Linked DNA regions of Homo sapiens: region 2 is linked to region 1. The links are contacts of gene promoters, found by promoter capture Hi-C in blood cells and fetal thymus (Javierre and others, 2016). All regions are on one chromosome and are shown on one strand. Each heading gives the region's core, a stretch centred on a gene start or on the middle of the fragment in contact. The rest is flanking DNA. Distances are from core to core; before and after follow the strand shown.

Region 1 (4,196 bases), core at 1,171-3,670:
AATTGCTTGAGCCTGGGAGGTAGAGGTTGCAGTGAGCCGAGATCAGGCTACTGCACTCCAGCCTGGGTGACAGTGAAACTCTGTCTCAAACAACAACAACAACAACAACATTTTAGTCCCATATGTTAGTGAAGGTGTCCTAGGTTCTTGGTGCAAAAAGTAAAAGAATATACATTCAACTCTGTGTGGATCAGAAACCCAAATCAAGAATGGCTTAAACCAGGTAGAAATGTGCTCATCACATGTACAAGGAGGCAGGGCCCAGGGCTGTGGTGGCACTCCACATGGGAGTACCATTCATCTTTTTCTCCATCTCTCTGGTTATAGCATTGAGTATGCAAGGTCCAAACATTATCACAAGGCACACGGGAAAAAGAGGTCCTAGTAGAGAGCTAACCAGGTCCAAAACAAAGACTAGAATCCATTAAAAAGGGATTGTAGCCAACTGAGTTTGCATTTTCACCTAATTTGTCAATGATTCTAATTGAGTCTTTAAGCACTCATAAATTCTCCTCTACCTAACTGGAGGTGTTGATCCAGAAACAGCATGTTTCATTTACAAATGCACAAGCGCCCCTTACTTCAGCCATAAGGACATCAAGAGTTTGTCTATTTTGCATGGCCACTGAGGCCAGAGAATTTATGGACTGCTCTTGGGCTTTTATGGCTCCTACAGTTACCTTTCACCCTTGTTACATCATGATAGAAATATTAAGCACTGATCTTTCAAGAAGGGGAACACCGCCAAGCCAAAATAGGCCTCTGGCTATTGCATATTTTATTCCGTTTTTCTAATATAGGATTGCCATGTGCATATTCTTGCCAGTTCTCTCTCTTTCATTTTAATCTCCATATGATGGCATAGAGATAAGTGATCTCCTGTTTTGGTATGTGTGATGGAATGCACTTTCTGTAAAAGAGCCCAAATTGGCGATGTCACCCAACAATGCTACCCTGTCAGTGGGGTTTAAAAATAACAAATTGGGGACCATTGCCACTATAGTGCATGTTCCTCTCCAGCGCCTGGGGAGGAATAAGCATAGCCTGGAGCCACAGAGAAAGTAAAGCCCTGTTCCCTGAAGGGATGGTTCTATGTTGTGATTTATGAGGGTTCCAGCTAAGTTTAGTCCAGGCCTTATAAGGTTGCCTTCCCTACATCTAATTCAAGCATCTTTAGAATAAGGATATCCATACTTAGTATAGTCATCCACAGTATTGTTTGGAACTTTACATGCTGGGAGGGAAGAATCTGTTTGGCAAATATAGTTTTGAAAGATCAGAGACGCAATATGTTCCAGCCAGTATCTTAGACAACCCTCCTTACAGCGGCTATTGGCCCAGACATCCCCTGTTCATTCACAAATCTGCAGATCACTGTCATTATCAAATATCATACAAGGGTCCAGGATTCCATGTGTGGGCATGTTTGGGAAGGACCATGTGCTATTTATTACCTGATAATAAGGTTGGCGAGGGGTGGCATTTCTGCCCGGGGTAGACATTCCCATTGGGAACTCCACCTGGGAGGTCTGGCTAGATTGTTAAAATTTTTCCACAGTCTCTCCCAATGTTTGGTGTCACCCTTGTTCCTTCTTAGTCTCCAGATCTCTGTGCTCTCAGCAATTACAAGCATACTGTTGCAATTATTTAAGGTTTCCCGAGTATGGTCCTTTTCCTTTACTCTTAAAGCAGAGACAGGCATTGGCTATCATTCTATCAACTTCACCTAGTCTAAGGGTGTGAGTTTTACCATCAGGAGGTGTGTCTTTCTGGGTGGAGTTAAAAATGCTCCCATACCATGTTCCCTTTATACCTATTAGGTCCTTAATGATTTAAGGTAAAGCCATCAGAGGGAAACCCTAAGATAGTGAGTTCTGAATCATCAAAGAGTCCATTGGTGTTATTAAACTGAGTAAATTGTTCAGGGCAAACCCAGTAATCAGTCTTGTTGTAGAGATCGGTAATATCTGATATTGTAGGAGCCAAAGAATGTGAGGCATTGCTACATCTAACAGTGAATGCTAGTAAACTTGATAGTAACAAAATCTTCATGTTTATCTCTTGCCTGTGACTACTATCCCTGCTATATGAATAATAACTAAGCAAAAGATTATGGCAATTGAGACTCTTTTCCCAATATTCCACTTAGAAGGTGCCACAGTATGCAGTCCTACTGCAAAGAGCAAGGTGAGTACAACAATTCCCATATGTGTGAAGTAATAAAGTTCCACTTTAAATCTTACTCACCGAGATATATAATTTCTTCGTGGGGGTGGTTTATGAGGTTATGAATGGAATCCCATGGATAATCAAAATCTCCCTGTAAGTATGTGACAAAGAGAAGTTCTAATATCTAACAGCAAATCTCAAGAGGAAAGGTAGAAATGACTTTAGTATCTGGTAAGGAAGGGTGGGATTGAACTGAACAGAGAGTTCCCACTCATTTACTTATCTTTTGGATTTTCAGTTTGAAATCCCCAGACTTTTCACACTGATATCTGAGATGTTCTTCTGGGATGTCAGGGGTCATTCCAGGCCTTGACTCGAGTGTGATGAATCCAAGATTCCAGTCCCACAAACTTCACTGCCGAGCAGGTGGAGAGAAGGATGGTATAAGGTTCCTCCCAGCTGGGACCTAGAGAGGGGAAAAGAGAGGAAAAATCCTTCACCAGTACCAAGTCTCCTTGGTAGAACAGAGGTGGCCCTAGTTCTTGGGGTTGGAATTCTGATAACTGTTTTAATTCCTGCTAGAACTGGGCCAGGGAGGTTACATGTTTAACCAATTCAGAAGTTCTCTGATGTAATATAAAATCATTGGTAAGGAAAGGCCGTCCATATACCATTTCAAAAGGGTGAAGGAACACCCCTTCAACCCCAAATTTGAAGGGGTGCTCCTCACCTGCACTAAGGCTATAGGAAGATAAGCAGTTTAGAGGAGGTGAGTTTCTTGAGACCACTTCCTGAGGTGTCTCTTAATGATATCATTTGTTTTCTCCACCTTCCCTGAAGACTGCAGTCTTCAAGCACAATGAAGATGGTATTGTATGCTCAGTGCTTTTGAGACCCCTTGGGTAACAGCTGCCTTAAATGAGGGGCCATTGTCACTTTGGAGGTATTTAGGGAGTCCAAAACGAGGAATTATTTCATTGACTAATGCTTTTATCACCTTAGAGGACTTTCTGTTTGACATAGAAATGCCTCTACCCAGCTAGTGAAGGCATCCACCCACAACAAGAGGTGCTGAATTCCCCTTATCTTTGGAAAATGGGTAAAATCCATTTGCCAGTCCTCCCCTGGGCAGTTTCCCATTCTTTGTGTTGCTGGGGATGGGGAGATGCCATTTGTTGAGGGGATTGTTTTTGAGGCAGATCTTATAAGCATTAACAATTTGTTTGACTGTTTTTGGTAGATATTTACCTGAGAACAACCTCTGGGCTATTTGATGAGTTTTATTCTTTCCCAAGTGAAAAGTTTGGTGAAGGATCTTAAGAACTTTCCACTGACTGGAGACTGACAAATAACATTTGCCATCCTCTGATTGTAACCATCCTGAGGGCTGAAAAGTGTATCCTCGAGAGGTGGCCCATTCTATCTCTGCAGGAGAATACTGAGGCTTTATTTCCCTTATGGAGCCCTCCCAAATTAGACAGCCTTCAAGTGTGCTGGGACTTTGGGGTCTTCTTACTGCTGACTTAGCTGTTTGGTCTGCTAGCCTATTTCCTTCAGCTATTTCATCCATCCCCTTCTGGTGTCCTTTGCAATGTATCATTGCCACTTCCTGCAGAAGGAAAACTGAGGACAACAATCTATTTCCTAATGGTATTTAATAAAAGAGCCATTAGCAGTCAGGGAGTGTCTTTCTTTCCAAATAGCGGCATGAGCATGAAGAACCAGGAAAGCATACTTAGAATCCATATATATGTTAACTGCCTTAGCTTTGCTTAGTTCAAGCACCCTCATGACAGCAATTAACTCAGCTAATTGAGCACTGTACCTGGTGAAAGAGGTGTGCTTTTAATGATGTCATCCAGGGTGACTATTGCATACCCTGCCCTACAGGTTCCTTGTTCTATAATAGAACTTTACTTGTAAAGACAGCCCAGTCTCAGTTTTCTAGAGGAGTTTCCTGGATGTCCTCTCTGGCTGCATAGGTTTGCATCACTATTTTTTCACAATCATGTTCAGGTTCTCCAATT
Region 2 (4,875 bases), core at 2,144-4,643, 260 kb after region 1:
CATTTGCATGTATTAAAAGTGTACAACTTGATATTTGTATATATTGTGAAATGACCACCAAAAGCTAATTTACATATCCATAGCCTCACAGGTACCCCTTCCTTCCTTCCTTCCTTCCCCTCCCTCATTCTCTCTTTCTCTCTCTTCCTTTTCTTTTCTTTCTTTTTTGCGTGGTGTGAATACTTTGGATCTACCCCATTAGCAAACATTTTTAAAGAGAGAGTAGAGCTAATTGAGCTGAAAGGAGTATTTCATGTATATCTCAGGTTCTGCACTTCTGAAATGGATTCCAAATAGTGTGTGGATCCTGGAAGTCCTTATAACCTTCTCTGTATTTATCCTTCTGTTCTCTGTCTCACGTCAGGTCAGGAATGGACAGGAGTGAGCAGGACGGAGTGCAGGCATCCTTCTTGGACTGGGAGGACAGCCTTGGGAGGACAGTGTCATGGGCTCTGGGAGCATCACCCAAGGCTAATGGGCTCCTGCAGATGCTCCTTGCAGCAGCAGAGTGAGGCCAGTATCTTGTAAAATGTTCCACAAACTTCTATGCACCTGCAGGCATGTGGACAATGGATAGGAACCCACGGTGGGCAATTCAGAGTGTCTGTTCAAGGAAATTGTATTTTATGTTAATGCTCATTGTTTTCTTGGAACTGGATAAAACCTGGCAGGCTCCTCTGTGGAGCATTATTAGATTTTCGGAATAATTTTTCTTTGTTGAGCGCACTTAAACTGGGTACTGAGACTGGTTCCTTCACCCCCACCCCAGGAGGCCTAGAGAGGAATCACTGGCCTGAGCCAGAAACAGGAAAGCAGGGGAGAGAGGAGGCGACGGTGGGGACGTGTTCCTCGATGTGCCCATTTCCTAGTTGTTACGTGTATGTGTGCATGTGTGTGCCTGCGTGTGTGTCCGTGTATGTGTGTGCGTGTGTGTGTGTGTGTGCATACATGCTCAGCAGCACAGCCTGGTGAAGGGCCTGGAGTGGCATGGAGGGAAACGCAAGGTGAATCTGAAAAAGAAGGACCACCACAGCTGAGAGAAATTTGCAGGAGGGAAATGTGGGGGAGAGCTTGGAACTCTCACTGTCTCTGGAACGGGGGTCCAACAAGCTCACCTCAGCGGCTTGAGGGTTCTGATCACTGCATCTGCCGTGTCCTAATGTTACAGTAGGTAGCTAGTCAGGCATGAGCAGGGCAGGGGAGGGCTCCCCACCCACACACCAGGAGTGTCTGGTGACGGTCAGGTGACGGTCAGGCGGTTGTAAAGTGTCTCGCTAAAGTAATAATTGGTCACAGCTGGCACCAGGGAAAGGCCGTCTCCAAATAAAAAGAAAACACCTAAAACTGGTGATCAGCAGCTTCCCAATAAGATCTCAGGAAGTGGGCGAGTGAGCTCAAGCATGTGCATTAAGAGGCAAAGTGATGGAGTTTAACTGTTGTATGACCTTCCTGTAGGAATGCTAGTCTGGTAAGGAAAGAATGCCTCAAATAAGCATGCATACAGCTCCAGGAAACACATAGCACACGCTCCACTCCCAACTGCTGGCAGGCCACTGTGCGTGCAGACAGCCCGCCCCAAGGGATGAATCGGGAGAAGGGACACAAGACCCCGGAAGCATGCCAACATATACAAGCCCAAGTCAAAAGGTCAAACCCTGCACTTGTCCTTCAAGTTACCTGCTTGGGCCTCTTCCAAGTGTACTTTCCTTCCTTGTGTTCCTGCTCTAAAGCTTTTTAATCAACTTTCACTCCTGCTCTAAAACTTGCCTTGTTCTCTCCTTCTGCCTTATGCCCCTCAGTTGAATTCTTTCTTCTGAGGAGGCAAGAATTGAGGTTGCTGCAGACCCGTAAGATACGGATTCGCTGCCGGTGACACTAACATAGATGCTGAGCAATAATCCAGAGCAGATACCAGTGGCCTGAGTAGGGGGTTGTGTGACGGAAGGAAGTGTGTTCTTTCAGGATACACTTAGAAGGCAGAATCAGTGGGACATAGTGACTAACTGATGATGAATCCCACATTTCTGTCCTGGGCACCTGGACGATGGTGGGGCCTCCACTTGGTGTGCAGGACTCAGAAGATGGAGCGTATTTTAAGGGAGCAGGAAACTGGCAAGTGTAGGTTTGCCCCAGGGAGTTCAAGGTGCTGCAGAATATCCAAGTGGAAAAGTGACCAGTTGACTCAGATTCTAGGCTTCAGGGGAGACACCTGGGTTGGCAACATAGCTCTGGGAAGATTAGTTTATACTTTGAGACCTATCTGAATTTTTCCATGTGAAAGCATTTAGTTTCATGGATGGAGATGAGTGCATTTGGGTGGGGCAAAGAGGAGACAAGCTCAATGAGCAAAGAAACCCTGTGAGGAGGGAGGGCAGGGCCCTGCTGCAGGGAGAGGAGGCTGGGGGGGAAACATTGCTCAGGGACACACACTATTAAGGCTGTCCTGGGGGTGGCAGGGCCTGTCAAATAGAACTTCGCTTCATGCTGCCTTATCCTTCCCGGGTATGAGCAGGTGTTTGGTGCCTCTTCTGTGCCGGTCAGTAGATTCCCCAGACGGGGCAGTAGAATATCTGGGGGCAGCTGGTCACCTCATACACAGGGCTCAGGAGGAAGCGTCTCCTAAGTCCAAGTGGTAATTTTTTTTTTTTTGAGACAAAGTGTTGCTCTGTCACCCAGGCTGGAGTGCAGTGGCACGATCTTGTCTCACTGCAACCTCCGCCTCCTGAGTCCAAGTGATTCTCCCGCCTCAGCCACCTGAGTAGCTGGGATCACAGGCATGTGCCACCATGCCCAGCTAATTTTTGTATTTTTAGTAGAGACAGGGTTTCACCATGTTTGCCAGGCATGTCTTGACCGCCTGACCTCAAGTGATCCACCCATCTCAGCCTCCCAAAGTGCCGGGATTACAGGCGTGAGCCACCGTGCCCGGCCCACGTGGTGAATTTTAAGTGAGCGGCAGATCCTGGCTCTTCACCATCACTTTTTCCCGTGAAAGACATCCAACGATTGAAAACCTTTGAATTTTTAGCTGGTAAAAGCCTCAGCATTTACTTAGCAAATATTGAGACATTGGATGGGAAGCTTCTGATGTTTCAGGCACTGTGTTCCCTGTTCTGAGGAATAAATAAGATACTTCCCTGTAGGATCTCAGAGATTAGCAGGATGATGAGGCAGGAAAGGGGCCAGGTACTAGGCATGGAGTCCCCAGAATGGGGCACAGGGCTGGAAAAGGCCGGGGAGGACAAGCTTTCCTCCAAGGAGAAGGAGGGAGGTGGCTTTGAACCGACCCTAGAGAGAGGCATGGTGGTTTAGCAAAAGGACCCTGGGGTAAGCCATTTAGGAGGCACAGACTGGGGCCAGGTTTTGTTAGCAGCGGAAGGTCTCTGAGTCACAGGGCACCAAAGTATGTTAGCAGCAGCAACTCCGGACCAGTCTGCAGCAACCTCATTCCTTGCCTCCTCGGAAGAAAGAACTCATCTGAGGAGCATTAGGCAAGGGAGAGACTGAGGCAAGTTTCTGAGCAGGAGTGGAGGTTTCTTAAAAAGCTTTAGAGCAGGAATGAAAAGAAGGAAAGTACACTTGGAAGAGGGCCAAGCAGGAGACTTGAAGGACTAGTGCAGGGTTTGACCCTTTGACTTGGGGTTTTATATGTTGGCATGCCTCCGGGGTCTTGCGTCCCTTCTCCCCTGATTCTCCCCTTGGGGTGGACTGCACGCATGCATGGTGGGCTGCTGGCGCTTGGGAGGGGCGCATGCGCAGTGTGTTTACTGGAGTCGTACCCATGCTCCCTTGAGGCGTTCTTCCCTTACCAGCCGAATGTCCCTAGGAGGTCATATGCCACTCACACTCTGCCATTTTGCCTCTTAGTGCGCATGTGTTGAGCCCACTCACCTCACGCCGGAGGAGATCTATCTGAAAGCTGCGGGCTTCAGGTGTTTCTATCTATTGGGAGATGCCGTTCCCTGGCGCCGGCTGCAAACAATTATTATTTTAGAGAGACAGCTAACCAACCGCCTGACCACCACCTGATGGTCGCCCGCCCCTCATGGTGGGGTGGGGGCCCTCTCTGTCCTGCTCTGCCTGACCAGCTACTGACCTAACAGTTTGATGTCCTTGTGAGCCATGCTTAAGGAATTTGAACTGGCCCCTATATGAAATGGAGACCACTGGCAGATTTAAAATTGGGAGTGAAATTTAAATTTCTATGATTTAGAAAGACTTTCTGGCAACTGGATTGGACTTGGAGGATCCTGAGTGCCGCCAGATTGGTTGGGGATGCTGAAGTGCGCAGGACGCCGAGGCTAAGGGGCAGGAAGGGACGGCCAGCATGCAGCGCCACGATTCGGTCAGCAGGTGGCGCGCGAGCACCGCGTTTAACCAGTTTCTAGGTGCGCGTGCTTTGCTGTCTTTTGTTACCATTTTGTTTGTTGTTTGTTTTGGTTTGGGTCTTTTTGTTTTGCGTGTGAGTGATGGATTTTTGTGTCTGCCTTGAGCTCTTCCACCCTATGCCTACTCAGCCTTCTTCAACTTGTGATTTTCTCCCTCCCTCTCTCCACCGTGAGATTAACCAGAATTAGACAGGGCAGCTTAGACAGAGAAAGCAGGTGTGCAGTTTCAGAAAGACCACGTGGCTACAGCCAGCCCAGCTGGCCTTATGTGCCCCACCGTCCTCCACCAGAGCTCTGGAGCCACTTGTCCTGCCCTGGGCCCAGCAGGCATCACAGCCAGTGGGAGGGGCCACAGGCTGCCCTGGGGTGTGGAGAAGCACCCCCTAGCTCCCCATCCCATGCACTCTGGTCTATTTCTTCCTACATCCCAGATGGACTCACCCGATTCAAGAGGCCCCCATCACATCAGCTTCAGCCTTCATCTTGG

Evidence for each region. Contacts are between HindIII fragments. The CHiCAGO score rates a contact against its expected background, and 5 or more counts as called.
Region 2: a contact is called between a fragment that was not itself captured here and the fragment with the promoter of NRIR in region 1, in 1 of 17 cell types (erythroblasts). The highest score is 5.0, in erythroblasts.

Annotation. Positions count from the first base shown.
Region 1 is chr2:6,838,044-6,842,239 of GRCh38, forward strand. NRIR (negative regulator of interferon response) reads right to left here and starts at 2,421. Exons shown (of 4, transcript NR_126359.1): 1 at 2,248-2,421. It also overlaps a transcript of CMPK2 not described here. The HindIII fragment of the contact is 12,024 bases long and covers 1-4,196 here.
Region 2 is chr2:7,093,081-7,097,955 of GRCh38, forward strand. No RefSeq gene overlaps it. Among named protein-coding and RNA genes, the nearest start is that of GRASLND, 180 kb to the left of the region's middle. RefSeq lists an enhancer at 4,426-4,555. The HindIII fragment of the contact is 299 bases long and covers 3,245-3,543 here.